Regions from separate parts of the Homo sapiens genome. Here all the other regions are linked to region 6. Evidence: promoter capture Hi-C in 16 types of primary human blood cells and fetal thymus (Javierre and others, 2016). All regions are on one chromosome and are shown on one strand. Each heading gives the region's core, a stretch centred on a gene start or on the middle of the fragment in contact. The rest is flanking DNA. Distances are from core to core; before and after follow the strand shown. Region 1 overlaps CDC14A (cell division cycle 14A). Region 2 overlaps CDC14A (cell division cycle 14A). Region 3 holds the start of GPR88 (G protein-coupled receptor 88). Region 4 overlaps CDC14A (cell division cycle 14A). Region 5 overlaps CDC14A (cell division cycle 14A). Region 6 holds the start of FRRS1 (ferric chelate reductase 1).

Region 1 (4,848 bases), core at 1,973-4,472, 650 kb after region 6:
TGGACTTGTGTGGTTCATTCTTTGCAGGTAACTGGTGAGTGCTTTCCTTTCCTAAAAACAAATCCAACTTGGGAATCTAATTCTTTTGTTCATGAGACATTCAAATAGAAAAAATGAATACAGTGCTAGTAACAGTAACTCGCTTCTTATTTCATGTACTTTGTTGCAGAAAGACATGGCCCACCTCAGGGATCTTCTGATATTTTGATAATGGGTTTGGTAAAGCAGGGACCAGTGGCATTTATTTTATGGATGTTGATACTAAGGCATCAGGAGACTAGGGAGGCTGTTTAAAGAGGCAGAACTGAGAGTAGGATCAACATCTGTACTCTATAATCAGAGGGTTGAACTAAATCATGGTCTTATTAGGGACATTTACAACCTCATATTCTGATGTTTGTATACATAGACGGGCTTTAGGGTGAAGGTGTGAGAAATAATAACAGTGTGGGTCCAGATTCACCCAGAGACAGATGGTGGAAAGGAAAAAAAACATTTTGGGACCAAAGTTTATCTCCTTTTTGTTGTCCCTTGCTGTAGAAGAGCTATGTGCTAGATATAATTTTGAGCACTTTACATACATTATTAATTCATTTATTCTTCCCGACAAACAACCTTATGTGATAGTTACAATTATTATCCTCAGTTTATACCTAAGGCAATGGAAGCATAGAGGGTTAGTTTCATGCCACTAATGGGGAAAGAACCTGTGTCTATGTCATGCTTCCCCTCGTATAAAACGCCCACTATTTGTGCAATCGTCCATCATTTTTTGAGTGTGTGCTACATGCCAGGCATAGTGTTGAGTCCTGCAGATAAAAAAGAGATGGAAACCTTGCTGTCATTAGTCTTACAGCCTACTTGGGGAGACAGGCTCAATCAAATAACCACAGAAACAAACTGGTATACGAATTTGAAGGAGAAGGCAGAGAGCTTTGAGAACATAAGGCAGGGGCCTGATCTTATTGGGTTGCCAAAAAGACTGTCTCACTTTAGAGCTGTGATCCCAAGGAAACGGAGGAGGTGGCATCTAAACACTGCGATGATGCAAGGTAGGCTCAGGTTGAGTCTGGTCACTTCATAGGCCATTCCCAGCCCCCTTTAGAGTCCTTGAAGTCAGTGTCTTTAAGCTCCATAATGGAGATTTCAGACTATCTCTGTGCCCTCGTATATGTGCAGGTTCCTGTGCAAATTGTAAGCGTTAAGTAAATATATATGCTGATTGAATTACAGTCATCTGTGGTGATTTGTGCTCTGTTCCACCTCCTGCTGGCTGCGTTGTATCCCATGTTGGAAGTGGCTGAGTGTGGCTTCAGAATAGACACAGAGGAAGTGGGAGAGTGAATATTTGGATGAGGGAGTATGCCTTGACTAAATACTTTCTATAAGCAAATACAAATCATATGACCTAGAGCTTTTATTTTTTAAAATCAGTCTATTGCTTTCTCTTGAAGCACATCATTGGTGAATTGACTCTATTTGGCTTGATGCTTTCATACAACTGGGCTGAGAAAGTTCATTTTACCCCTCTTTTGGGCATTCCCACTATAGTTGTAGTGATATAGTCTTTTAAAATCTCATTCACCAATTATTAATTAAGCTGAATTAACCCTTTTGGGTAGATGCATTCTTATCCTTATATGTTTAAAGTAGCTGTTCATTAAACATAGGTTTTTTGCTGAGCATCTATCTGACAGGAGGCATCTGAAGGTTTATAAAGGTATGGGAAGCTTGGTTACTTGAGCTCCAGAAGCTTTCCACTTTAGTCTAAAGGAAACTAATTACAAAAGAGCTGTGAGGGGCCCATCAGGATGTGCTTATGAGTTTCTATGAGGGAGCCAGACTGACTGTGTGACCTTGAGCAACTAATTCTCAGTGCTTTTCCTGTAAAATGAAAATGGGAATAATAATGGAACCTAACTCGGGGTGATGTGAGGATTAATGAACCAAGTTATGTACAATGCCTAGAAGAGTGCCTGGCACATGGTATATACTGTTAACTTTTTGTTTTTATTGTTGTCATTATTGTGATCATTATCACCTATAGTTGAGTGTCATATTCTGGAGTCTAAAGGGTAAGGGAAAAGGTTCTGAGTTGGAGAAGAAAGGCATCATGGGACATAGTATTTGAGTTTAGGTCTAATGAAATATAGGTCTAATAGGTAGAAATGGTGAGGAAAGTATTCCAGAAAAACAACAACAACCTCAAATACCAGAGATATCAGGTATGTTTAGGGAAGGGTGAGGAGTCCAGGCTAGCGGGTAGGGTTCATTTGAGGAAAAATGACAAATTTACCTGAAAAGGCAGGCTGGGACGATATCTTGGTGAAGGGTTGGCAGTCTGGACTGGGCTTTTTGAGCAGGGTTGAGACTTTCCGAGCCCTGCTCTGGAACTACTGGAGTAGGCAGGAGGTGGAGGCAGAGAGAAATGGTGTTAGTCCTAGAGTACGGTGATAAGGGTTTGGATAAGGGTTTGAAATAACGTGATGATGATTGTCATGGAAGAAAGGTCCAGGTAGTTCACTGCGGAACTAATGAAATTTAAGACTCAGGGCCTTTTCTTGCTTAGTTCCGTCTCTCAAGCTGTTGAAGGGAAAATTTTTTGTAAAATATGAAAAGATGTTTGTATCCTCCGTCTTTGCTCCCCAAATGATGTGTTTCAGGCTCCCAAACCTGGATCTACCCCATAATTGAAAGAGACTGTGGATGGCCAGGAGTGGTAGCTCACGCCTGTAATCCCAGCACTTTGGGAGGCTGAGGCGGGTGGATCACTTGAAGCCAGGAGTTTGAGACCAGCCTGGCCAACATGGTGAAGGCCTGTCTCTACGAAAAATACAAAAAAGTAGCTGAATGTGGTGGTGTGTACCTGTAGTCCTAGCTACTTGGGAGGCTGAGGTGGGAGGATGGCTTGAGCCTTGGGGGTGGAGGTTGTAGTGAGCTGAGATTGTGCCACTGCACTCCAGCCTGTGTGACAGAGCCAGAACCTGTCTAAAATAAAATAAATAAAAAGAGAGAGACTGACTGTGACTGTGAAGAGATAATCAGTCTGGGTATTGACTTGATGTGGCTATCACGTGATGGAGAGGCCAAGGTCAAAGATGACTTTTGAGATTCTGGGTCTGGCTGACTGGGAGGAACCCCTCATGAGAAAGGGGGATGTTGGGAGCAGCCAGTTAGGGTGCGGTAGTTTCAAGCCAAGTGAGTGCTCTGCACTGGTTAGCTTCACCAGTAAAAGAAACATTTTCTTCTTATATCTGCCCACCCCCATCCTCAATTGCAGTTTTGCAAGCATGATAATTGTAAGTTACACAGTGCTAAGGAAAGGACTCAGCATTTCTGCTGATTAATGGGCTTCAGCCCAAAGCACACATCATAGTGATGTCTTTGTAATGTCCACAGTTAGTATTCTGTGTATTCTAAACCTAGTTGTCTGAAACTTGTAAATGGAGTCTCTCCTTTTTTGGCATAAGTCTTCCACATTTGGTAAATCATAGTGCTTTAAGACTATTTTAAAGTTGTAACATCAGTTTTCTGGAAATTGTATTTTGAAGGAATTTAATTGACTAAGACATGGTTGAAATGTTAATTTCAAAGCTATCGTGCCAATGTTCCAGTGGCAGCACCTACCTGGGAAAGGCTATTGTCAGCATTTGTTTCCTCTTTTTCACACAAGTAAAATATTAAACAAATAAAATTGAAGAATACTCTTTCAGATGGCCAAATTGAATCCTCAAGAGTATTTTCACTTTCCAAGTCACAAAATATAAATATAATTAATGTAGGGGCACAGATTTCACTTTTAAATATATATATATATACATATATATATACATATATACACACACACACACACACACACACACACACACATATATATATATATATATAGTGTGTATGTGTGTGTGTGTTATGCTTTGCTGAAAAGGTTTTTTTTTTTTTTTTTTTTTTTTTGGAGGAAAAATAGCACCTAAAAACAAAGCTAAAAACATAGTAAAGTTTGAGGCAAATGTCCCCAGAGAAAGATCATTAGCAAATTCATGACCCAGAGTCTGGTTGAGACTTCTCTATGAAGCCATTTATTGTTTTAAGAATCTCCCCTTGTGTATCAGAGAGGTTGAATTATCTGAGTAGAGAAATACAGTTGTAAATTCCAAAATGCTTCAGAAATTCACATATTATTTTGGAGCAGGTATTAAGGATTTAATGACTGCAGGATTTAGTTTAAAAAAATGATTTAGAAGTATTTGCAGATGAATTCTAAGAGGATTCTATATAACTTCTCATGTTGGTCTGGTGTTCCTCTATAAAATTAGTACAGACTTGATATTTGTTACATTGTTTCTCACGGTGTAGTAAACACAAATATTTAAAATTATAAGAGTTATGCATTTTAATATTCATTTATGTATAGACTCAGTGGCGGGTTTTCCCATTTATAGCAATGATATAAAACATTTTACATCAAATTGATTTAAGTCAAAAGTAAATGTGTGTTTAAAAAGAATGAATGGTAGTACATGGTGGTACCTACGGCAGAAGTTGGGAAAGTGCATGATTAACTAATGGGCAACATTGGCTTACTGGTAAACAATATAAATTGTGCTGGTTTGTAGTAGGGTAAATTTTATTACGCTGTTTAATAAAACCTCATAGCTGTTGATAATATATATGTTAAGATACTGGCTCTTTAAGAAGCTTTTATTAAAGAAACTAAAAGTTATTTAAGTTCTTGGTACCTGGAAGTTAATTAAACAGAAAAAAGTCACTTTAATTGGGTGACTCCTGCTCAGTTAAAAATAAAAGTATATGTTAAATGCTATATTATTAATATGGTTTCTAGGACTTCTT
Region 2 (4,590 bases), core at 129-2,628, 680 kb after region 6:
ATGTTTTATTTATTCCTTCCTTCCTTCCTCTCTGTCTAACTTTAATGGTGATGCTGAGGGTTAGTTGAAAAAAATCTTGAAAAACCTGAAGCAGACAGTGCAATTTTATTCTTGGAAACCAACCAGCCAAACAAACAAAAATCTGACAAGAAGGTAGTCATGGTTTCACCTTGACAACAACCATCTAGGTGATGGGAGGGGAGCAGTCAGTTTTGGTGAAGACTTGATGTTGTCAAACAACTTCTTTTTTTTGAGAATGATTTATCTGTTCTATTATAAAGCCTATAAAATAGAAAACCACTATTGTGATTGGCAGGTGGTAGGTATTTCTTAATTTTTAGTTTCTTAATTTCTTAAATGTTTAAGGAATAAATGAATAAAGGAACTCTTTTCTGACAATCTGTGGGCCCAGTCATTTCCTGTCAGATTTCTCTTGCTGTTTGCCCTGTTCTAGTGAGTATGATATTTGGTGAACTTGTGGAATAGCTGAATTCATACATTTTATTAGCTCCAGTAAAGTCAGTATTCCAGTGAAGGCAGTGTAGTTTTCAAAGCAAAATTTTATTGTTGACAGCAATTTGTGAGACTGTAAGCCTTAGATGATTAGGGGATGTTCAAGATGCAACTTTTCTTTGCTAAAGTACATTTAGTAAATGATATGGCTCAGAAAAACAAAAAACAAAAAAACCCCAAAAAAGCCTAAAACAATAAGACTGTATCTCTATGTGAGATTAAAGGGGAATCTTATAGAAAGAGTGCTACTTATAAATGCTTCTAGTGATGAGGTCAACAGAATGTGGGAAATGCTTTGTTGTGTAAAGTCTACAGATAAACCTCTGCCCATCCTGCAAAAGGTTATATGCATCTTCCTCCTGCAATTCCAGGGTCTAAAGCAGTGCTGTCCAATAGAAATGTGAAAGTCATATCATGAAATTAGTTTTAACAATACATTTTACTTGTTGTAAATATGTTGTTTACATATTTAGTAATATACCTAAAATAGCATTTAACATGTAAGCAATACAAAAATTATTAATGATGTATGTATTTTGCATTTTTTTTTGAATTAAGCCTCAGAAACCCAGTGTGTAGTTTATTTATTTTATTTATTGTGTTTTTTTGAGAGAGGGTCTCGCTCTGTCACCCAGGCTGGAGTGCAGTGGTGCAACCTAGGCTCACTGTAGCCTTGACCCTCTGGGCTCAAGCCATCCTCCCACCTCAGCCTCCAGAGTAGCTGGGACCACAGGTGTGTGCCACCTTGCCCTGCTAATTTTTGTATTTTTTTGTAGAGATGGGGTTTCGCCATGTTGCCCAGGTTGGTCTCAAACTCCTGGACTCAAGCAATCCGCCCACCTTGTCTTTCCAAAGTCCTGGGATTGCAAGTGTGAGCCACTACGCCTGGCCTCCAGTGTGCAGTTTATACTATAGCATATCTTAATTTAGACTAGCCATATTTCAAGTGCATAGTAGCCACATGTAGCTAGAGTATGGATTCTGTAAGGACAGGCTAGCCAATGTACTGTCATAGTCCATCAGTGTGACATGAAGCCTAGGTTATATCTCCTTGCTTCATGTGATCTGTGGTTCACATGAGAGTTAATTTCAAAGCCCTGTTCTATTTAGAAAGCTCGAGGTGAGATACCTCAGGCTCTTGCTTTATTTTCATGTGACTTAAAAATGGCCCATTGTATTAAGTATTGATAAACAACACCAGGTGTTGGCTTCCGTCTTGGAAAAGTATCTTCCAAAATGTGGTCTTTCCAGGTCCTTTAGCAAGCTGTTGTGGAACTGTACAGTTCCTTACATTTGCCCCGATCAGACATGAAATTTGGGCAGCTATGCTGGGAAGGTCCACAAAAGTAACTGTGAGATGGTGGTCCAAAACCTTCCTCTAGGAATCAGTGTCAAAACATTTGTACTTCTCCAACAGCTTCTTAAGGTATTCTCAAAGAATATGTACCTTGAGAACCTTGAGAACTTTTACTCCTTTGAAATCTAGCCATTTCAAATCTAGTTCAGAAAAATGAAAGTTGACCTTTTGTCCTAGGGAAAAATAATGAAGATGATAGAGCTTGAACATTCAATTAAATTAGGTAGCTGTAGGTATGTGAGGAACTATGCTCTTCAGTAGTAAAGTTAGTGGTGAATGCTAGTGTAGGCTGATACTCTGCTTGTAAGACCTGGAAGTGGCACCCATATACAGAGTCTACCTTCAGTCAGCTTTCTTCTGTTTTTTTGGGGGGTAGCTGTCCTTACCAAACAAGATGTTGCCCAAACACCAGTGATCATTCATGATGCTACTGTTAAGCAGTTATTATTTATCAGAGAGAATTTGAAGTTATGTCTCTAGTTTGTTATTTTGCTTGTCCCCAAGGGCTTTCCGCTATTTACCAAAAGGCTTGCCATGGTTTGATGATGGAAGTGTGATGCGGTAGCAGTGTCCTGTTCTTAGTTGGGTTTGGGGGAAGAAATGCAGAGAAATGGTGCTTCAGTGGCAACATCGGAGGTTCCTCATCACTGTGGCTTACATTTATTACCCCATTCAAAATTCAGCCCATGCAATTTCAAGGAGTCTCCTTAAATATCTATTTGGGGATTAGGTGGAGATAAAAGTTGAAAAATGACTTCAAAACTGAGAAAGTACTTTGACTTTTTTTCTTTGAGCTATTTTCTAGCTGCCATTATCTGCCCCCTGCCATAACTCATTCCTTTTTTGGGTGTGAAAAACAAAATTATGAGAATATTTTCCAGAATATCAAGCTATTGTGGCCTTGATCCTATACTTTTAAATGTGAACAAACCCAGGCCACTTCTTTACCATTGTCTTGATAGAAGTTAGAGCCACATTTGGCCTGCAGGCCTGATGACAGAGGCACCTGTTACTGCCTTGACAACAGTCACCGCACAGGGCTTCCTTTTGTTTTTTCATCATGGCATATGGAGAAAATGATAATATTTGCTCAACACCCTGTGATGATAGCTCATAGCTGTTGGCAAGTGGCCTGGGGACTCTGGCTGCTCCAGTCTGCCCAGGCAGCTCCATTCTGGTCACACTGGCTAGGAAGCTTTGTTTTACAGAAATAATGATGTGCAGATGAACATTTCTTATTTGAAAGTCAAGTAGCCACACCATGCTCCTTATGGCCTCATTCTCATAGCTTTTCAGTTCATTTGTTGAACAGATATTAAATGCCTCATGTTTGCTCCATATATTTGCTAGGCCCAATGTTTCTTTTTCTTTTTTTGTTTTTTAGGAGGCTACCAGTAATATCATCTCTCCATGTGTAGGGTTAAAGCCTTTGCTCTTGTCACCTGGTACCATAGAATCCATGTATTCTTGTGCCTCATTCTGCAGAAGTTGCCATATTTGAGTCTTGCTTCAAGCCCCTACTTTTATGCTTATCAATTTAGTTGTGATACAAAATTTCTCACTGATCCATGACAGGCTGAAATGTGGACTATTTTGTTCCTGAGATATTCAAGCAATTCACAGGTTATCATTATTGCTATCTTCACCTAAAGGGTGCTCTTTTGGGGAAAGACCATTTCTATTCTAGAAAGTGATTTCACATTATTTTAGCCACATTACAATGTAGCGCATCTGGGAACTGTTTGTGAAAAAGCATGGGTTCATTCTGGATGCCTGGGATTGAGTCTTTCTTGGATCTTGGGCCTCTTCGATCAAGACTTCACATTACTATCAGGGTGTAGGTTTTAAAAATTAAGTCTGATTATATCATTCCCCTGTTTTATCATTTCCCCTTCATGGGCTCCACACTGACTAAAGGTGTGGAGGAAATGCAGACTCCTTACTACAGCACAGAAGGCCCTTCTTGACATGGGCTTGTCCTTCCTCTCCACCCTTGTCCTTTTCCACTCCCTCCCCATACCCAAATCCACGCAGCTTACCCGGTGGCGGCTTCTGAGCTTTTGCACATGCTCTTGCTCCCTCCTCCTGCCTGTCAGCTCTTCTTTCTGGTCCACTGTATTTACATGGTTGACTGTTAAGTCCTTCTCAACCCCATGGAAGCTCTTCTCATGTAGCCTTGTGTGGTACTCTGTTTACACATCTGTGTCTTTCCTGTATCTGCGGGTACTTTTGGGCAGCAACTTTGTCTTATTCTTCTTTGTTTGAATAAGTAACCTACTAGCACAGTACACTCATAGTGGGCAGTCATTATTTGTGGAATGAAAGAACTAATGAGTAAATGTGTGAATAATACTAAAAACAGGAGTATAGCACATTTCAAGATATTTTATATGATCTGTTTTCAGTGGAAAGTGCCTAAAACATGTTGATTAAGAATCCATTCTGATTTTGCAGTAATATTCCAAGGGACAAATTTACCATGGTAGACAACTTCTTCAAATGATGTTTCTTTTATCAGCAGCCAATCTATGCTGCAAGAGTGAGGTTTTTTTTTTTTGTTTCTAAGTCAGTTATTTACAACACAGATTGCTAGATGTTTTAATCTAAGACCAGTTCTGTATGGAACATCAATTTAGTTTAATATGTGAGTGGGGACCTATCTCCAGGTTGACTCTGTCATCCTTCACTGCATAAGTAAATTTTCAGATTGACCAGGTGGT
Region 3 (4,529 bases), core at 1,922-4,421, 770 kb after region 6:
AAGCTTGGTGGGAAAGAATCTGTGGGTGACCCATAGGCGAGAGTGGAAGGCAGGAATCAGATGAGATCAATTAGGGAGAGAGAGTAGGGTGAGAAGAGAACCAAGAAGAGAAGCCAGGAACACTATCTTAAAGGAGCCATGACACTGGGGAGCCAGAGACTGAGTCTGGAAGGGAGCAGACAGAGGAACAGAAGCAAAGGGAAACCTGGAGGGAAATGGCACTGAGGAGGAGGGTGTTCTTCACAGAGTCAAAGTAGAGGGCAAGGATTTAGGAGTCACGATTTGCTACTGAGAGGCTACTGTTAACCTTGGCCAAAGCTGTTTCTGTGGAGCAGGGAGAGCTAAGGGCCGTGTGGGTGGGTATTCAATGGTAAAATCAGAAGTAGAAGGAGAAAATGAGCACTTCCATCAGGAAGGGGAAGTGAGCTGTGTGTAGGCACCATGAGAAGGAGGTGAAGTTCCAGGGGAGTTTTATGAGGTTGTGGTGAAATCAGCATTTTTGTAAGTCTGAAGGGGAGCAAGCAGTGGAGAGCAGAGAGACTGACAAGAGACAGCAGAAAGCAGATGACTGATGGGGCAAGTTCCTGCTGAAGGTGGGAGGAAAGAGATGCTCATAAAAGTGAATTACTGTTTCACCGTGGAGAAAACATAAATGAAATCATTTACACTGCCATTCACTTATTAATTCAGTAAGTATTGATTAAGTTTCTACTATGTCCCAGGCACTGACCTGGTGCTGGAAATAAGATAGAAAAAATTCCCACCCTATATTATGTAAGTTCATTAACTTAAAACAAAAGGAAAACCAAATCCAGAAACAAACAAAAATTTGGCCCCTGTCAGGCCAGCGCTAAGGGAGGCATGGTCTTGGAGGAAGTGTGTGTGACTGCCAGGCACTGGAGTCCCTCAGCAGGAATGCTGCTCGTCTCAAAGGCAACACAAAGTGGCAGCTGGGACCAGGGATCCAGAATTTGAATACCCTCCCACCACATTCTATCAGAGAGTCCTTTAGGACTATGTTAATGTGAGAGAAAAAACTTTACTTCAATGGCAAGTTTTAACTATGAATGATTAGGAGAGTCTCCTTTCTCCTGAAACATTGCTCTTAGGGACAGAGTGGAAAAGACTCCTGGACATATGGGCCAGAACTACAATGCATGTTACAGAGAAGAGGTATACGCCATGTGTCATAACTAGAAAGGAGAAATGCAGGCTTGCTGTGCTTAATGCACTCAAAACCTCAATAAGGACAAATGGCAATAGGCAAAAAGATGATGACAAATACTCATCTCATTTACATCAGTAAACTTGATATCGAAACCTTCAACCCTCTGAATAGCAAGTCACTGGTTCTTTTCTTTCACTTCCCCCTCCGGCCCCTGCCCCTGCCCCAACCAATTTCATTCAGATATAGCTTAGCTGGACCAAATCTATCAAGTCATGCTTATCCTTAATCCTCATCAGAGTTCTTGAAGTCATCAACTAACCATATTGATTTTGAAATAGAAAAAGAAAAGCAGAGAAGCTGTGTTTTGACCTCTCTCCTGAAACATTGCTCTTAGGGACATATGACCCAGAACTACAACTGCAATGCATGTTAGATAGAAGAGGTATATGCCATGTGTCATAATTAGAGAGAAGAAATGCTAAATTCATGAATAGGGATTCACAGAAAGTTTTAACAGAAAGGGCCTTTGAAGTGACTGACTGTGAACTTATTTGACAAGATGAAAATAATCCATCGCAAGGCTACATGATGGATGCTCGGCTTAGTATCTGGGTGTGCTGCAACCCCACCTAACATTTTTTTCTATTATGCCATGTTACCATATTCCCATATTGAGTTACATTTTCAAATACATGACTTTTCCAGTGAATAATTGAGAGAACTCCTTTTCTGAAAAAATTCCCACATGGAATGGATAAATGAACACTTGCACCAAAGAAGATGCCAACATCAGACTGCAAATCTCCAAGACAGACAAGACAAAAAGTTCTGAAGTGAAAAGTCATCTTTGTTCACACTGTGGATTATTCAGGTTTCTTGCTTTCCCCCTGACACACATTTTTTTAAAATTGACTTTATTTTTTTAGAGCAATTTTAGATTCATGGCAAATTTGAGTGAAAGATACAGAGATTTCCCATGTACTCCCTGCCCCTCGCATACATAGCCTCTCCCATTATCAAAATCCCCCACCAGAGTGGTTCGTCTGTTACAATTGAATGTACGTTGACACATCATTCCCCAAAGTCCATGGCTTACACTGATGTTTCACATTCTGCCACTTTGGGCAAATTTATAAGTACACAGATCCACTATTATGGTATCATACAGAGTAGTTCCACTGTCCTAAGAATCTTCCGTGATCATCTATTCATTCCTCCTTTCCCCCTAACTCGGGCAACCACTGGTCTTTTTAACTGTCTCCATAGTTTTGCCTTCTCAAGAATGTCATAGTTGGTAGCATACAGTATGTAGTCCTTTCCAGTTGGCTTCTGTCACTTAGTGATACACACTTAAGGTTCCTTCATGTCTTTTCATGGCTGGACAGCTCATTTCTTTTTAGCACTGAATAATATTCCATTGTCTAGATGTACCACTGACATCTGCTTTAAATCTTTTGCCCATTTCATTTTTACCCTCTAACCATTTCATTACTAAAACACAAAACAAACTCCGGAAAGGAGTTTGTTGATGAGAAAACACTGAAAGTACGATTTAAATTGAGGAATGGAGATTTTCTGTGGATAATTGTCTATGTTCCACTTTACCAAAGAAAAATGAATTTCAAGTAGTGCATAAAGTAATTCTCGTTAAAAAATGTGGGAATAAAGAGATCAGTCCTGGGTACTGGGAATATATTTATCTCACAGAAAAATCTTGCCCACAAAATGCATCAGACTGAGATGAAATACTCTAGGGTATATTAAATTTTATTCTAATATTGAAGGGAGGGAAAAAAAGGACGGAAAGAAAAATGAAACAGGATGAAAAATAAGGTGATTGGGAGAGAGAAAAGACAGAGAAACTTGTTAACGACAGGACTTTCTGAGCAAGATATTTTTCTTCCTTTTACAAGTTGGAAGCTATTGAATAATTCATGCCAAGCGTGGAAAGGCTGTCTTTTCCCTGGATGATGTATAACTAAGCAGGAGAGAGCTTCGAGTGGGTTCACCACATCAGCCACCACTCCTGCTTCTGAGCACAGGGTGCTCTCCTCTTGAGCTCAGCTTCTGCTTTTGCAGCCAAGCATTCTTGCTGCTGCTGCCTGCCTGCCCACCCGCCTGGGCTTGCAGCCCGCCACTTTACTTTCTCCAGCCCTGATACCAGCTGAGAAGTCTCCCTGCAGCTGCTAGTTCCTGCCCAGGACCATGTGTGTGGATGCTGCTTGGGAGAAGCGGGCACTTGCTCCTGGCACTGATCCCAGCTGAGTTTCTCCTGTTGATTTCTGGACCACTGATGCTGTTGCTGAGGAGGTATTTCCCGGCATCCCTCCCCCTGAGACACCGGCTAAGGACCAGCCTAAACGCAAGGTAACCTTCACCTCTTTCCCATGGGATTTTCCCCAGCTGGGATATCTCTGCTTTCTCCTGGAACTAGGTCCTCCAGCTGGCAACATATCTCTCTCTCTCTCTCTCTCTCTCTCTCTCTCTCTCTCTCTGTGTGTGTGTGTGTGTGTTGGGGGAGAAGAGGAGACTGTTTTAGGTATTGCTCTGTCCTAGGGCTTCCCCGATACCTGCTGAATCCAATGCAAAGTGGCCTTTCCCCTGGCTCTGGAGACATTTCCGAGGCAGGCACCTGTCATCTGCCACCCCCGTCCTCCTCCTCGAGCTCCCTTTCTCCCCCTCCCCCAGCCCATTATTCTGCTTCAGCCTTTTGTGTCAGTGGCAGAGGGCTGAAGGGATGTCTTTGCCCTTCTGGCAGGCAGGACAGTGTCAGGATGGACCGCGCTGCCAGAAGCCGACGCTAGCGAGGGAGGTGTGAAGAGTTGGCCAGAATGACCAACTCCTCCTCCACATCCACCTCCTCCACCACCGGTGGCTCGCTGCTGCTGCTCTGCGAGGAAGAGGAGTCGTGGGCGGGCCGGCGCATCCCGGTGTCACTCCTGTATTCGGGCCTGGCCATCGGGGGCACGCTGGCCAACGGCATGGTCATCTATCTCGTGTCGTCCTTCCGAAAGCTGCAGACCACCAGCAACGCCTTCATCGTGAACGGCTGCGCCGCCGACCTCAGCGTCTGCGCCCTCTGGATGCCGCAGGAGGCGGTGCTCGGGCTCCTGCCCACCGGCTCTGCGGAGCCCCCCGCAGACTGGGACGGCGCTGGGGGCAGCTACCGCCTGCTACGGGGTGGGCTGCTGGGCCTCGGACTCACGGTGTCCCTCCTCTCCCACTGCCTCGTGGCCCTGAACCGCTACCTGCTCATCACCCGGGCGCCCGCCACCTACCAGGCGCTGTACCAGAGGCGCCACACGGCGGGCATGCTGGCGCTGTCCTGGGCGCTCGCCCTGGGCCTCGTGCTGCTGCTCCC
Region 4 (4,974 bases), core at 2,225-4,724, 710 kb after region 6:
ATTAGTGATATCTTTTACTGAAATTTCATTTTTTTTTCTTTTTATGCTGGGTTGACTCTATTTTATTTTAATTTTAATTTTTTATTTTTTGTAGAGACGGGGGCCTCACTATGTTGCCCAGGCTGGTTTTGAACTCCTGGGCTCAAGCAATCCTCCCACCTTGACTTCCCAAAGTGCAGGGATTACGGGTGTGAGCCACTATGCCTGGCTGATGGCTCTCTTTTGAATAGCATTCTTTTCCATATAATTATTTATTTCCAATTTAAATATAATTATTCCTTTCCAGTTTTAATGATCATGATCATGTGTGAATTCGTAAAGAAACGATCATGAATTTCATAGGAAGATGCCATAAGTAAACTCTTAGCATCTGAAATGATTAAGAGGATTTGAGCCTGCTGAGGAATTACTTACTTTAGTTGCCAGTCCTAGAGGTAATAACTGATTAAGAAGTGCTGAAAAATGAGTGGTTATACTTTAGCTTAAAAGAATGATGCAGATGTCTAATGAATGCATTAGAAAAAATATCCAAGGACAGGATCATTACAAAGACAGGAATTTCTCTCTTTTTACCCGTGAGGTACAAATAAGATAATTCTGTTATTTTGGAGCTTTATTCTTGATCAGATTCTCATTGTCTTCCTCTATTTCTCTGTTTTGCATTTTATGTGCCTGTAGCCTGGAGCTTTGTGCCATGTATCTGCCAGGTTCTCATTATACTAATTGCTGAAGTTGAAGAAATGGTCTTAGGGTTAAAAAACCAAATACTCCTAAGCCTAGTTCTTTAAGCCATTTAATCAATGTCTTAAAATTATTGCTTGTCATTTAATAGGTATTGCTATACCTATTGCCCCAGGCATTCTGCTAAGTACAGCTCGCAAGGTGAGGAGATATAGCAGAGAATTCTACCAGTCAAGGTCACCTAGCTTTCTCAGGGTGTCAGATAACACAGCCCTCATGTTTCATGGCTGCATACTCCCTCCAACCTCCCTATTATACTCTTTCTCTCTGCCATATCTCAAAATAGTAAGAGAAGAAATTAGAGTTATGAGGCAAAGGCACTCTAGGCTGAAGAAAGGCTTTTAAATTTATAGATACTTAAGCTGTATATAAAGAACTCTCAAAACTCAAGAAAACAACTTAATATAAAATGAGTAAATGATTTGAACAGAAAGTCCTCCAAAATGATATACAGATGGTGAATATTCCTCATGATCATAAACACAGAGTTCTTAAAGAAACATTGCATATCAAATCCAGCTGTATAAAAAAGATAGTGCATCATGACCATCATGGCTCAATATTAGAAAATCAATATAATTCACCAAATTAACACAAAAAGTAGAAAAATTATATGATTATCCCAATAGATGTACAAAAATTTGACAAAGTTTAGTACCCATTTTTAATAGAAACTTTCAATAAACTAGAAATAGAAGGAAATTTCCTCATTCAGATAAAAATAATCTATGAAAACTCTATAGCTAAAATTATATTTAATGGTGATGCTTTTCCTGTAAGATCAGGAACAAAACAAGGGTGTCTACTCTCACTACTTCTAATATTATACTGGAAATCTTAACCAGTGCAATGAAAAAAAAAGAAAGAAAAAAAAACTTAGAACTAAAGAGTGAAATTAGTAAGATTGCAGGATACAAAGTCAGTTTTCAGAAATTTTAGCAAAATTTTAAAATTCTGCTAATTAAAAGACACACAGTATATATATCTGACAAAAGACTTGTACACATATATTAAAAAGTATAAATAAGCAATTTTAAAAATTAATTTTTGAATGGGCAAAAGCCTTGGCCAGATATCTCATAGAAGGTAATATATGTATATGAAAAGATGTCCAACATCATTAGCCATCAGGGAAATAGAAATTGAAACCACAATGAGATACTATTTTATGTCAACCAAAATGGCAAACAAAAAAGAAGTTTTACTACAAAATGCTGGCAAAGATATGGAGCAACTGGAACTCTCATGTGTTAACCAATTGGTGTATAATTGTTTGGCCATTTCTCATAACGTTAATCTATATTTAACTCTATGACCCAATGATTTCATTTCTAGGTATTTAAATAAGGGAAATGGAAACATTTGTCTACAAAGACTTGTACAAGAATATTCACAGTTGCTTTATTCATAGTAGCCCAAAATTAGAAATCATCCAAATGTCCGTCAACAATTTATGAGTGAATATATCATAATATGTTCATAAAATGAAATACTAGCCAGCAATAACAAAGAATGAATTACTGATATACTCAACATAGATGAATATCATATTATTGTAAGAGGAAAAAAAAAGCCAGACACAAAATAATACATGCTGTATAGATAAAGCCCAAGAACAAGCAAAACCATTCTGTGGTGATAGAAATCAGAAAGCAATTGCTTCTGAGGTGTGTCAGGGAAAACTGACCCCCCAAAAAAGCATGACAGAACTTTCTAGAGTGTTGGAAATGTTCTGTATCTTATCTTGGGTTGTGTTTACACAGGAGCACAATCAGTTGTAATTCCATATACTAGCCTTAAACAATTAGAAAATAAAACCTAAAAAATTATACCATTTACAATGTATCTGGTAACTTCAGGTTAGAGATGTGCAATATCTCTACACAGAAAACCGAAGAATTTTTTTTATTGAGAGAAATTAAAGAAGATATAAATAAGTGAAAAGATAAAGATTATCTTGAATAAGATCAAAGCTGGAGGATTTACACTCCCAGATATGGATTCATTTTAAAACTGCAGCAATTATGATATTGAGATATTGGTGTCAAGACAGACAAATTAACCAATAGAATAGAATATAAAGTGCAGAAACAAATTCAAAAATATACAGACACTTGATTTATGATAAAGGTGACATGTTAGAGCAACAGGAAAAGGTCTTTTTAGTAAATTCTGCTGGGTCAACTGGATATCTATATGGGGAAAAAGAAGAACCTTGGCTCCTATCTCACAACCTATTTTTTAAAGGAATTCCTGATGAGTTGTTGATTCAAATGTGACAGAAAAATCAGTGAAGCTTCTGGAAGATAACATAAAATAATGTATTCATACTTTGAAGTTAACAAAGATATCTTAAGTGGTACATGGAAAGCATTACCTATAACTGAGTTGAAATTGTAAAATTCTCTTCATCAAAGACACTATTAAGAGAGTGAAAATGAAAACCACAAGAGTAGGAGAATATTTACATCACATAATAATGGGCACTGTACTTGTACCCAGAATACTTACACTCCTACACATTAACAATAAAAAGACAATCTGATAAAAAATGTGTAAGAAACATGAAAAGACATTTCATAGAAGAGAATGTACAAATGGCCAATAAACATACGAAAAGCGATTCACCCTCATTAGCTATTTCTTATCTTTTGGTACAGCTATCTGTTGGAGATATACCTGTGAGTGGAACAGTTGGGTATGTGTGCATTCAGAGTTAGAATTATTAAACAGTTTTCCAAAGTAGATATGCCTGTTTATGTTCTCATCAGCAATGGTTTGTCAGTCTCTTAAATTTAAGCCATTAGATTTTTTAAGTGATAACTTGCTTTATAGTTTTAATTTGCTTTTTCTTGATGACTAAGGTCAATCTTTGTATATTCTAGATACTAGTCCTTTGTCTGGTAAATGTTTTTCAAGGTTTTTTTCAGTCTATAACTTGTCTTTTCATCCTCTTAATAGGGTCTTTTACAGAATAAAAGTTTTAAATTTTGATGAAATCCCTTTTATCACTTTTTTCTTTTTGATATTGTCTGAGACTCTTAGTTTAGCCCTAGACTCAATGATTTCTCATATTTTTTTTTCTAAAAAGTTTATAGTTTTACATTCACATTTAAGTCTGTGATGGATTTTGAGGTTTTTGTTTATTTCATAACGTGTGAGACTTAGGTCAAGCTTCTTTTTTTTTGGCCTATGCATGCCCAGTTGCTTCAGTACCATTTTCGTTGAAAATTCAGTTTCTCCACTGAATTTTTTCTATAGCAGCATCAAAAATCATTTGGATATATTTGTGTTGATCTATTTCTTTGTTCTCTATTCTGTTCCATTGACCTATGTGTCTCCTTCCTTCAATGCCACACTCTCTTGATTACTGGACCTATATAGTGAGCCTTAATATTGGAAGAGTGATTCCTTCCACTTTCTCCTTGTTTAACAAAATATTCTTAGCAATTCCACTTTCTTTTCCTTTTCATATACATTTTAGAGTAAGCCTGTCTAAATCTACAGATAATGTTTCTGGGATTTTAATAGGAAGTATGTTAATCCTCTATATCGATTTGGGGAGAATTGACATCTTTACTATTGTTGAGTCTTCTAATCCATAAACATGATATGTCTTTTCATTTATTTAGATCTTCTTTGATTTCTTTCATCAGCATTGTGTAGTTTTCTGGATGCAAGTCCTTTTTTGTTAAATTTACACCTAAGTACTTATTTTTTTTTAGCAATTATAAATGGTATTTATGTCCATATGTTCATTGCTGGTATGTAGAAATACAATTGATTTATCTTTTTCTTTCTTTCTTTTTTTTTGAGACGGTGTTTCACTCTTTTTGCCCAAGCTGGAGTCCAATGGCACGATCTTGGCTTACTGCAGCCTCTGCCTCCTGGGTTCAAGTGATTCTCCTGCCTCAGCCTCCCAAGTAGCTGGGATTACAGGCGTGTGCCACCACGCCCGGCTAATTTTTTGTATTTTTAGTAGAGATGGGGTTTTACCATGTTGGCCAGGCTGGTCTTGAACTCCTGACCTCAGGTTATCCTCCCACCTCGGCCTCCCAAAGTGCTGGGATTACAGGTGTGAGCCACCCTGCCTGGCCACAATTGATTTTTCTGTTTATTTTGTATCCCGAAACCTAGGAGTTTTATATGGGAGTGTGTGTGTGTGTATGTATGTGCAAATTCTTGGGGATTGCTTTTTCATCCACAAATAGGACAATTTTATTTTCTTTCTAA
Region 5 (5,125 bases), core at 989-3,488, 750 kb after region 6:
GGCTCCTTTTCTCTTCCCCACCTGGCTGTTCCAAAACTTTTTAACATTTTTCACCAACACAACCCCTTCCTGATCTCCAGAGCCAGCTGACCCTGCTTTGAGATCTGCTAAGAACATAGAATTTATCAGAAGTAATTTCCTCTAACTTCCCTCTTCTCTGTCTCAAAGTTTATCTGCATCTGGACTCATCCATTTCTTCCTTCCCTTTTAATTCCAAAGAAACTCTACTGTTTTCCAATGATAACTCTACCTACCTGTACTGTTCTTTCCAGAATCTTTCATGAAGTTGCCCTAACCACTTCCTTCTCCTTTTGTATCTTCAGCCTCTTACCCTCCGTTTGCAGGTCTCCTCAACTGCAAATGTGCACATCCAAGTTGGTAGGCTGGTGGGGGCTGGGGAGGAGTCTTCCCTTGGCCCTGTCTTCCTCTCACAGTTTCTCCTTTATGGCCACACTTGGGGAAAGAGAAGCCTGCACTTCCCCCTCCCTTGTCTCTTTGATACTCCTCCGCTCTACAGCTGGGAGGTGGCCCCTCATTCTGGTGAAAGTCTCTCCCGCAGATTACTGCCGACTTCTTCAAGGCCAGATCTGATGGGCTCCTGTTAGTCCTTCTACTCCTAAGCCTGCCCCTTAATGATTGTCCTTACATTGGCTCTTTCTCTTTGGGTAACCTCCTGAGCATTGGACCTACACTCCCAGCTTCCTCTGGGTGTTACCTGGGATAGAGAGAATACAGGTTCCTTCCATTGCCAGCTCCTCTTTGGTTTCCTAGCCGAATAATCTCATCTTTATTCATCCAGTCATCCAAGCTAGACATTTGGAGTCAGCTTTGACACTACTTCTGCCTGCCTTTCCCTTGTCACACCAGTCACTAAGTCCTATCAAGTCTCCCTCTAAAATGCCTCTGTCCTTCCATTCTTACCACTGCTGCCTTAATTGGGGTCTTCATGAACTATCGCATAGCCCTTTCTGTCTTCCTGTCTCTTACCTTTAATCTTTCCTCTATACTGTTGCCAGTGTTAAATTTCTGAGACACAGAGCTAATCAAATCCTTCTCATGTTTGGCTTTGTTCAGTGGCTGCACTCTGCCTACTGGGTCAAGTCTGGCTCCCCTGGCTTGGCATTCAGGGTTCTTCCCTGTCGGGCTGTGTGCCTCCCTGCCAGCCTCCTCTCCAGCAGCTCTACCTGGCACGACCTGCCTTAAGCCTGAACCCTAGCACTTGCAGTCCACTCTGCTTTCCCTTGTTTCTCTGCTTGATTTTGTATTTCTTGACCTGGCTCGATAGTTATCTTTTTGATAAGCATTTGTGACCCATCTAAACAGAATGGCTCTTCCTTTCTCGACTCTCCTAGGAGCGCTGACACTCTCATATTATAGTCAGTTATACATGATTCTCTCTCTCCTCTGCTTTCCTTTAAGCTTCTCAGAAACATCTCTTGTTTCCTGAGGTTCCACAGTACAGTATAAGTGCCTAATAAATACTTATTGAACTAAAAGTCAGATAATGTATCTGGGTTCGTGAATGTTAAAGTGTTTAGGAGCCTGGGTCTCATTGTTAGCATATGAAGCACTAACAGAAAACAAACAAGTTTCCAGCTTTAGCTTTAATATACGGTAATCTGGGAGTTGTGTATTTTTTTTCTAGAAATGTGGCTTTACTAAAATAAGAGAAAATAAATTTTAACTGAGTTTGCATCAATATAATTTTGGTGTTCAGATGAACTGAAAACACTCATGTAATGGTTGGCTGAGTCAAGCTGGGTGTCAACAATCTGTCATCTAACAATTGAGCTCTTTGTGATTGTTGAAAAGCATATATTAAATTTCTCCAGAAAAAAGAATCTATTAAAAATCATGTAGGAAGGTGAAAGACTATTTTATATAGCATTATAATGAGCCCAAATTGGCTTTTTAAGTCTTGAAGTCCCTGAAATGCACAGAGAACACTATGGAAAAATGCACACACACCTTTCGAACCTGATTTTAACACAAACCTTCATCCTTTTATCTTAATATGATGCCAATAAAACCATACCCAGCTACATTTCATCTAGTGTTATTGGAGGAAATATGTATCATATTAACAGAGGCAAATTCTTTCAGTATTGTACATGTTGGGTACAATATACACTACTTGGGTGACAGGTGCACTAAAGTCACAGACTTCACCACTATACAATTCATCCATGTAGCCAAAAACCACTTGTACCTCAAAACCTATTGAAATAAAAAATAAAAAATACTTTCAGTATTGTGAAACCACAGTTATGGAAATAAGTATCAATGCACACATTTTATGTGTTAATTTGTGAGCAATACAAAAACTGGAAACTCTATTACAAAGGCTTAAAGAGACATAGGAGTACAGAGGCAGTTATGGGTGTATTTATTTTTCCCCAGTGTTGTATTTGTTCATTAAAACTTAAAACACTATAGTTATGTATATAAAATACCATGTTGCCAAGCATGTATTTTTTCCTTTAATTTCAATCACATTAAAACAAACCATTTTTATTTTAGGTTCTTTTTGCCTCTGTGGTTAGAACTTAAACCAGGGATAACTAGTACACTATTGTTTATTCCTTAAAGGACTGGGGAAAATGTAGGAAAGAAAATGTCAGTGTGGCAAAAAAGTCCATGAACATTTTGAATCAGGATTTTGACCTTAGTAGGATGCTAACATTCCAGGCCATTGGATCCTTTGGTTCAAGTTATTTGAACATTAAGACATCGTTACATTCATTTGCTGTCAAGGACCTTAATCTTTCATTATTCTTTATAATTTGCTGTTTTTGATAGCTAACATGTTTTATTTATTAACCATCTGTACAATATTTATATCTGTAATTATTAGACATGTTCCTGCCATGATTAGGTAACTGGGCTGTTTAAAAAAGAAACACCTCCAGAATAGCTAAAATTTTAAAGTTACTACCTACATCTGCCAAAACAGATTAGTAGCAGATTTCCAGAACAGAACAAATTGTCTTGATCTCCTTACCTAACACTTTGTTTTATGTCAAATCTTACTGCTTTCAGGGAACAAGACTTCTTGATGGAAGCTTATATTTTGACATAAAAATTTTGGGGGCTGCAAATGTAAGGCAATTTTATCCTTATTTTTCAGGTTGAATATTGCTACATTATTAATTTTATGGTATTCATACAATAAGAATACCACATATTCATAATAAACTTGATCTGGTCCTAACTCACTATAACTCTGTTGAGCTTACTAATTAAATGAGCTTGAATATTATATTTGAGAAATTAAAATCTCTTGGTTATATAAACAAGGGCTAACTTCTAAAATAATATTTGTACTTCAGGTATAAAAATTATTTTCACTTTCTTTATAACCATCTTCACTGTCATTGTTATAATTTATTTTGTATTTCAGATTCATTAATTCATTATTGTAACAACTAAAAACATTGGCCAATCAGAATTAAAACTTTAATCAACTCATAATACTTAAGCATGGATGTTCTTATAATGAAAATTTCTTTTAAATTTAGAATATTCCTGAAAATTCTTTGAATTCAGGCCTGATGAAAATCATTCAAAAATGTATTTATCTTTTAATGCAACAAATATTTTTTAATAATTTTTTTTATTCACTCAGAATCATATCTTGCCTAAGGTCATTATTTGTCTATGTTAGGGTGATAGAGAATGTTGGATTGAATATGTAGTGATCACAAGGCAAATGCTCGCTGTCTTGAGACATTAAACTATGGTAGCTAAGGGTTTGAGCTTTAGAGTCAGACTGCTAGGGTTCAAATTCCAGCTCCACCAATTCTTAATTACATGAATTGGGGCTAATTACTGCTTTGTGCCTCAGTTTCCTCATCTGTAAAGTGGGTTGTCTGAAACATTTAATGCGTGAATATGTATAAGATGTTTAGAACTGTCCTTAGCATATAGGAAGTACTCAAATATCTAGTTCAGAATAATTGATGTGTCAAGTAATATATCTAATTTGTTAAGAAGTTCAGCTAGTTGTATTTAATCTATTTTTGAATACGAAAATCAATAGCAATAATATTGTTCATGGAATTCAAAATGCAAATGCAATTTTACTATAAAATGTAATTTTACTATAAAAATTAAAAATGCCAGTAACTGGCTATAGTCTTTTCTGGGATATTAGTAATTTTACAATACATGGACATTTGGAAAACATTGTATATAGTTGGTAGTCCTACCTGTGACTACAAAAAAAGCATGAAGTTATGCTTTGTTACGATGTGTATTAGGTCCCACCAGGCACTCATCTGGCTTATCTATCTAACCTGTCTAAGATTTGAAATGGAGAGTACTTGTGTTTTTCCTTGAGGTTTCCTCAACTGTGGCTGAGTACAAATGACCCAGAGAGACCGTCAGCACAACCCCGTAGGATAACCATGTGATACCTGAAGTTTAAATATTCCTGTCATCCAACACTGTTGCTCCCTGAATAGAAAGGTCTCACAGTGTTAGTTATGCTTTTGTTAAGTGAATAGATCTTGGAGACTTGAACAATTCTCTTCTCCCCTTAGTGCATTTCTTTCTTTCTTTTTTTTTTTTTTTGAGACGGAGTTTTGCTGTGTCACCCAGGCTGGAGTGCAATGGAGTGATCTGAGCTCGCTGCAGTTTCCGCCTCCCGGGTTCAAGTGATTCTCCTGCCTCAACCTCCCGAGTAGCTGGGATTACAGGAATGTGCCACCATGCCCTGCTAATCTTTTGTAGTTTTAGTGGTGATGGAGTTTCGCCATGTTGGCCAGGCTGGCCTTGAACTCCTAACCTCAGATGATCCACCCGCCTCGGCCTCCCAAAGTGCTGGGATTACAGGTGTGAGCCACTGTGGCCCCCTTAGTGCATCTGTATTAAGATTTTTATTTTAGATTGAAAATGAAAGGAAGTTAATTTGTTACAAAATACTGATGTCAGAATAATTTGCTGAACCCTTTTTACTGATCTTTCATTTCACTTTCCTTTATACCATATAAAGAAACCATGGAACATGTTTTGTTTTGAGGACTTTGGTATTGTATTTTTATCCTCTAGTGCTTAATAGATACAACTTATGTTCAGTAATTATTTGTTGAATGAATTGAACTGGTGGGACAGAAGGTCAATTCGT
Region 6 (4,594 bases), core at 309-2,808:
GAATTTTGAGAAAATCCAATATTAAAAAAGCTGACAGGTGTGAAACAGAGAGTACACTTCACCAAAAAAATCAACATACTGGCTAACTAAATGACGAACTAAAACTCACTTCTCCAACCTAACAAAACCATCTCTTAAAAGGTCTTTGTTTTCAATAAGCTGATAGATCAAATTAAGCCCCCAACTTCAGTTCTATCCCAGTATAATACTCAAATCTTACCACTTTTTTAAAAATACAGAAGTGGCTGGGCGCGGTGGCTCACGCCTGTAATCCCAGCACTTTGGGAGGCCGAGGCAGGCAGATGACCTGACGCTGGGAGTTCGAAACCAGACTGACCAACATGGAGAAACCCCGTTTCTACTAAAAATACAAAATTAGCCGGGTGTGGTGGTGCCTGCCTGTAATCCCAGCTACTCAGGAGGCTGAGGCAGGAGAATTGCTTGAACCCGGGAGGCAGAGGTTGCAGTGAGCCGAAATCCCGCCGTTGCACTCCAGCCTGGGCCACAAGAGCAACACTCCGTCTCGAAAATAATAAATAAATAGGCCAGACGCGGTGGCTCAAGCCTGTAATCCCAGCACTTTGGGAGGCGGAGGCGGGCATATCACGAGGTCAGGAGATAGAGACCATCCTTGCCAACACAGTGAAACCCCGTCTCTACTAAAAATACAAAAAATTAGCCGGGCGTGGTGGCGGGCGCCTGTAATCCCAGCAGTATACTCAGGAGGCTGAAGCAGAAGAATCGCTTGAACCCGGGAGGCGGAGCTTGCAGTGAGCCGAGATCGCGCCACTGCACTCCAGCCTGGCGGACAGAGCGAGACTCCGTCTCAAAAATAAATGAATAAATAAATAAATAAAAATAAAAAATAAAAATACAGAAGCAAATGAAAATATCTGAACTGAAAAGTTTAGCTATGTTAAGAAATATTCCTAATAACACATTTACAATTTGAAAAATCCCCTTTACCCTTTAGGGCAGTATGACAAGCACACACAAAAATAAGTGCAGTGATAACACCTTGCCACCCTGGAGTCTTTCTGAAATTTTAACGACACACCAGGGCTAGGGAGTGGGAGGGTAAGGGGACTAAAAGTTCTAGATAAAAAGCCACTTTAAAAACCAAATAAGGTTCTAAGTGACCCTGATATAGGTAACCATGCCACTAGCTTTAAATATAAAAAAAGAGTTCCTACAGTTTTAAATTTAAAATTAAAAACAAAAAAAAAACTCCTGCAAGAATAAAGTCAATGATTTTCAGGATCCCAAACACGTCTCTACTTATAACCACCCATATCTTGGAATTAAAGCTTGTTAGTCAAAGTCACAGGACATATTAACCTAACTCGTTAGTGAACACTCATTAGCTCAATTCAAGCTCCAGAACATAGTTTCGGAATACAGCACCCGTTCTGCCTGGCCGACTGCCCTGGTCAGCACAGGCACTCGCTCTCCAGTCTGTCGCTAAGCTGGATTTGATTTTTAACGCTTTACAAAGAGCTTTGACATTAAGGAAAAAGACGTGACACTTACCTTGAGAAGCGAAGGCAGCCTAACCAACTTCCGGTTTTGTTACAACTTGTATCACATTTCAGCAGCTGGGTGGAGCCAGTTAAGCCTTGAGCCAAAAGGGAACCTTTCCCAAACTAAGCTGCAGAACTTGATTTGCAAGACCAGTGCTAGTTTTAGGACTCCATTTCTGAAAACTTAGAATTCTGTTTTACACTAAGGAACAGTGTTTGCCAACTAGTACCTACTTCGCCACAAAAATTATAGTTTTTGTGTTTAATTGCAAAACTATTTGAAAATACCTGTTCTATAATAGTGCTAAGTAAAAGCAAATTAACTTTTAAAAAGTGGAAAAAGATCAGATTGCATAGAACCGAAACCTTTCTGCAGTGTGAATGATATAATGCAAAAGAAATCTTTTATTTTGCAAATTACCCCTGAAATTTAGGAGTTTTGTTTCTTTTTAAGCCTTTAATCTGTTTCACAAGACTCTTTTGCAAAAGAAAAATTTTAGGGCTAGGAAAAGACAATGTAATTGAATTTTTAACAATCTTTGTTTTTATTTTGTTTTTTGTTTTCCTGTTTTTTACTTTTTTTCTTCTCTTTAATGTAATTGAAAATATTAAACATTCCATTTCAGACCTTGAGTGACATTGTAATTGCCCAGTGGGTTCACCTTGCCCGCTGTCTAGACAGAGCCGATTTATCAAGACAGGGGAATCGCAATGGAGAAAGAGTAATTCACGCAGAGCTGGCTGTGCAGGAGACCGGAGTTTTTTGTTTTGTTTGTTTGTTTGTTTTGTTTTGTTTTGTTTTGAGACGGAGTCTCTGTCTGTGGCCCAGGCTGGAGTGCGGTGGCATGATCTCGGCTCACTGCAGCCTCCCCGTCCTAGGTTCAAGCGATTCTCCTGCCTCAGCCTCCCCAGTAGCTGGGACTACAGGCGCCCGCCACCACGCCCGGCTAATTTTTGTATTTTAGCAGAGACAGGGTTTCACCATGTTGGCCAGGCTAGTTTGGAACTCCTGACCTCAAGTGATTCCACCTGCCTCAGCCTCCCAAAGTGCTGAGATTACAGGCATAAGCCACCGCGCCCAGCCCGGAGTTCTATTATTACTCAACACAGTCTCCCCAGGATTCGGAGATCAGAATTTTTAAAGATAATTTGGCGGGTAGGGGCTTGGGAAGTGGGAGTGCTAATTGGTCAGATTGGAGATGGAATCATGGGGGGTCGACGTGAGGTTTTCTTGCTGTCTTCTGTTCCTGGGTGGGATGGCAGAACTGGGTGAGCCCAATTACCGGTCTGTGTGGCATCAGCTGATCCACCGAGTCCAGGCTCTGCAAAATATCTCAAGCACTGATCTTAGGTTTTACAATAGTGATGTTATCCCCAGGAGCAATTTGGGGAGGTTCAGACTCTTGGAGCCAGAGGCTGCATGACCCCTAAACCATAATTTCTAATCTTGTAGCTAATTTGTTGGTCCTGCAAAGGCAGACTGGTCCCCAGGCAAGAAGGGGGTCTATTCAGGAAAGGGCTACTACCAATTTTGTTTCAGAGTCAAAACATGAACTGGATTCCTTCCCAAAGTTAGTTTGGCATATGCCCAGGAATGAACAAGGACAGCTTAAAGATTAGAAGCAAGACAGAGCCAGTTAGGTCTGTTCTCATTCACTGCCATAATTTCCTCAGTTATAAAAGGCTTTGCAAAAAGCCTTTTTGCAAAGGCGCTTTCAACATATGCAGACTGGAAAATAGATTATGACCCATGCCTTGACCTGTGAATGCTGGTTATCAATCAACCCCAGTAAATTCTTTAAACCATTTTTAAAGAGAGAACAGAGAAAGGAACACCATCACGTTACGCTTTCTCTTAAAGAACTAGTCACAATTAACAAAAGCCCCTCTCTACAGGTTATTAAAGAGAGGCTTTAAATAAAGATGACCCAGAGTTGGTTTGCTATCCTAAAGCTGCTGGGAACATGAATAGTTTTAAACTAAGTCAGCTGATCTTCAGTTCTTCAAAGCCTCAAGTGGTGAAATAGCCTTCTGCAGATAACAGACCCTTTCCAGGAACTGTCCCCATTGCATGCCAAAAGTATGATATGTCTATAAAACAAAAACTCTTCGACTATATTATCAGAACCCTACATTCTAAAGCACTCTTAGGAAGTGGTACGACACAGTGGGAAGAACTGAATGGAGAGAGAGGCTAGCTTTGTCTAAAACAACCCTTTCACTAGGCTCAGTGGCTCACATCTGTAATCCCAACACTTTGGGAGGCCGAGGGGGGTGGATCACGATATCAGGAGTTCAAGACCAGCCTGGCCAAGATGATGAAACCCTGTCTCTACTAAAAACACAAAAATTCGCCAGATGTGGTGGCACACGCCTGTAATCCCAGCTACTCAGGAGGCTGAGGCAGGAGAATGCTTGAACCTGGGTGGCAGAGGTTGCAGTGAGCAGAGATCACACCACTGCACTCCAACCTGGCCAATAGAGCAAGACTCCATCTCAATAAATAATAAATAAATAAAACACCACCCCTTCTGAGACTATCATTTCTCTCCATGTCCCCAGCTATAATTCCACCTTATCATTCCCTTCCAGATCACCTCTACCAGACTCTTCATCAACTCATCAGTTGTCACAAAGGAGACCAATTTTATTAAAATTAGTTTAATGGAGCTTAGATCCTAAGAAGTTAAAGCTACCCTACTGGTTACCATTCTCATGCCTCTATATCAGCAGTTCTCAAACTTTTTTTATTTCAAGGTCCCTTCACAACTTTGAAAGATTATTATGTACATCAGAGATGCTTCTTTATGTGGGTGATATCTATTAATATTTTTGTATTAAAAATTAACAGAAAAAGTTAAATATTCATAAATTTGTTTTTAAGTGACAATAATAGTTACATGTTAACACAGTATCTTTTCTGTTGCTTATATTATTGTTTTTCAACAATAAAAAATTTAATGAAAAAGTATAGCATTTGACTAGTCTAAAAAAAAGAAAAAGTATCATTGTTTAAATTGTTGCAAATCTCTTTAATGTCTGGCTTAATAGAAGACAGTAGGATTCTCATATCT

What was found. Contacts are between HindIII fragments. The CHiCAGO score rates a contact against its expected background, and 5 or more counts as called.
Region 1: a contact is called between a fragment that was not itself captured here and the fragment with the promoter of FRRS1 in region 6, in 1 of 17 cell types (erythroblasts). The highest score is 6.2, in erythroblasts.
Region 2: a contact is called between a fragment that was not itself captured here and the fragment with the promoter of FRRS1 in region 6, in 1 of 17 cell types (erythroblasts). The highest score is 8.4, in erythroblasts.
Region 3: a contact is called between the fragment with the promoter of GPR88 here and the fragment with the promoter of FRRS1 in region 6, in 1 of 17 cell types (M1 macrophages). The highest score is 5.9, in M1 macrophages.
Region 4: a contact is called between a fragment that was not itself captured here and the fragment with the promoter of FRRS1 in region 6, in 2 of 17 cell types (erythroblasts and total B cells). The highest score is 5.5, in erythroblasts.
Region 5: a fragment that was not itself captured here is called in contact with the fragment with the promoter of FRRS1 in region 6 in 1 of 17 cell types (erythroblasts); the score reaches 5.6 in erythroblasts.

What each region holds. Positions count from the first base shown.
Region 1 is chr1:100,416,195-100,421,042 of GRCh38, forward strand. All of the region lies in intron 4 of CDC14A (cell division cycle 14A), which reads left to right. LOC105379827 (a long non-coding RNA gene) reads right to left here. Exons shown (of 3, transcript XR_007066254.1): 2 at 1-2,396. Among named protein-coding and RNA genes, the nearest start is that of CDC14A, 66 kb to the left of the region's middle. The HindIII fragment of the contact is 2,942 bases long and covers 1,752-4,693 here.
Region 2 is chr1:100,445,595-100,450,184 of GRCh38, forward strand. The region is part of intron 7 of CDC14A (cell division cycle 14A); the gene reads left to right. Among named protein-coding and RNA genes, the nearest start is that of GPR88, 90 kb to the right of the region's middle. The HindIII fragment of the contact is 3,370 bases long and covers 1-3,063 here.
Region 3 is chr1:100,534,968-100,539,496 of GRCh38, forward strand. GPR88 (G protein-coupled receptor 88) reads left to right here and starts at 3,172. Exons shown (of 2, transcript NM_022049.3): 1 at 3,172-3,535; 2 at 3,927-4,529. The coding sequence starts at 4,000. RefSeq lists enhancers at 3,596-4,445, 3,894-4,293, 4,446-4,529. The HindIII fragment of the contact is 8,214 bases long and covers 2-4,529 here.
Region 4 is chr1:100,468,850-100,473,823 of GRCh38, forward strand. The region is part of intron 10 of CDC14A (cell division cycle 14A); the gene reads left to right. Among named protein-coding and RNA genes, the nearest start is that of GPR88, 67 kb to the right of the region's middle. The HindIII fragment of the contact is 878 bases long and covers 3,036-3,913 here.
Region 5 is chr1:100,510,830-100,515,954 of GRCh38, forward strand. The region is part of intron 15 of CDC14A (cell division cycle 14A); the gene reads left to right. Among named protein-coding and RNA genes, the nearest start is that of GPR88, 25 kb to the right of the region's middle. The HindIII fragment of the contact is 1,643 bases long and covers 1,418-3,060 here.
Region 6 is chr1:99,765,077-99,769,670 of GRCh38, forward strand. FRRS1 (ferric chelate reductase 1) reads right to left here and starts at 1,559. Exons shown (of 17, transcript NM_001361041.2): 1 at 1,531-1,559. The HindIII fragment of the contact is 6,315 bases long and covers 1,306-4,594 here.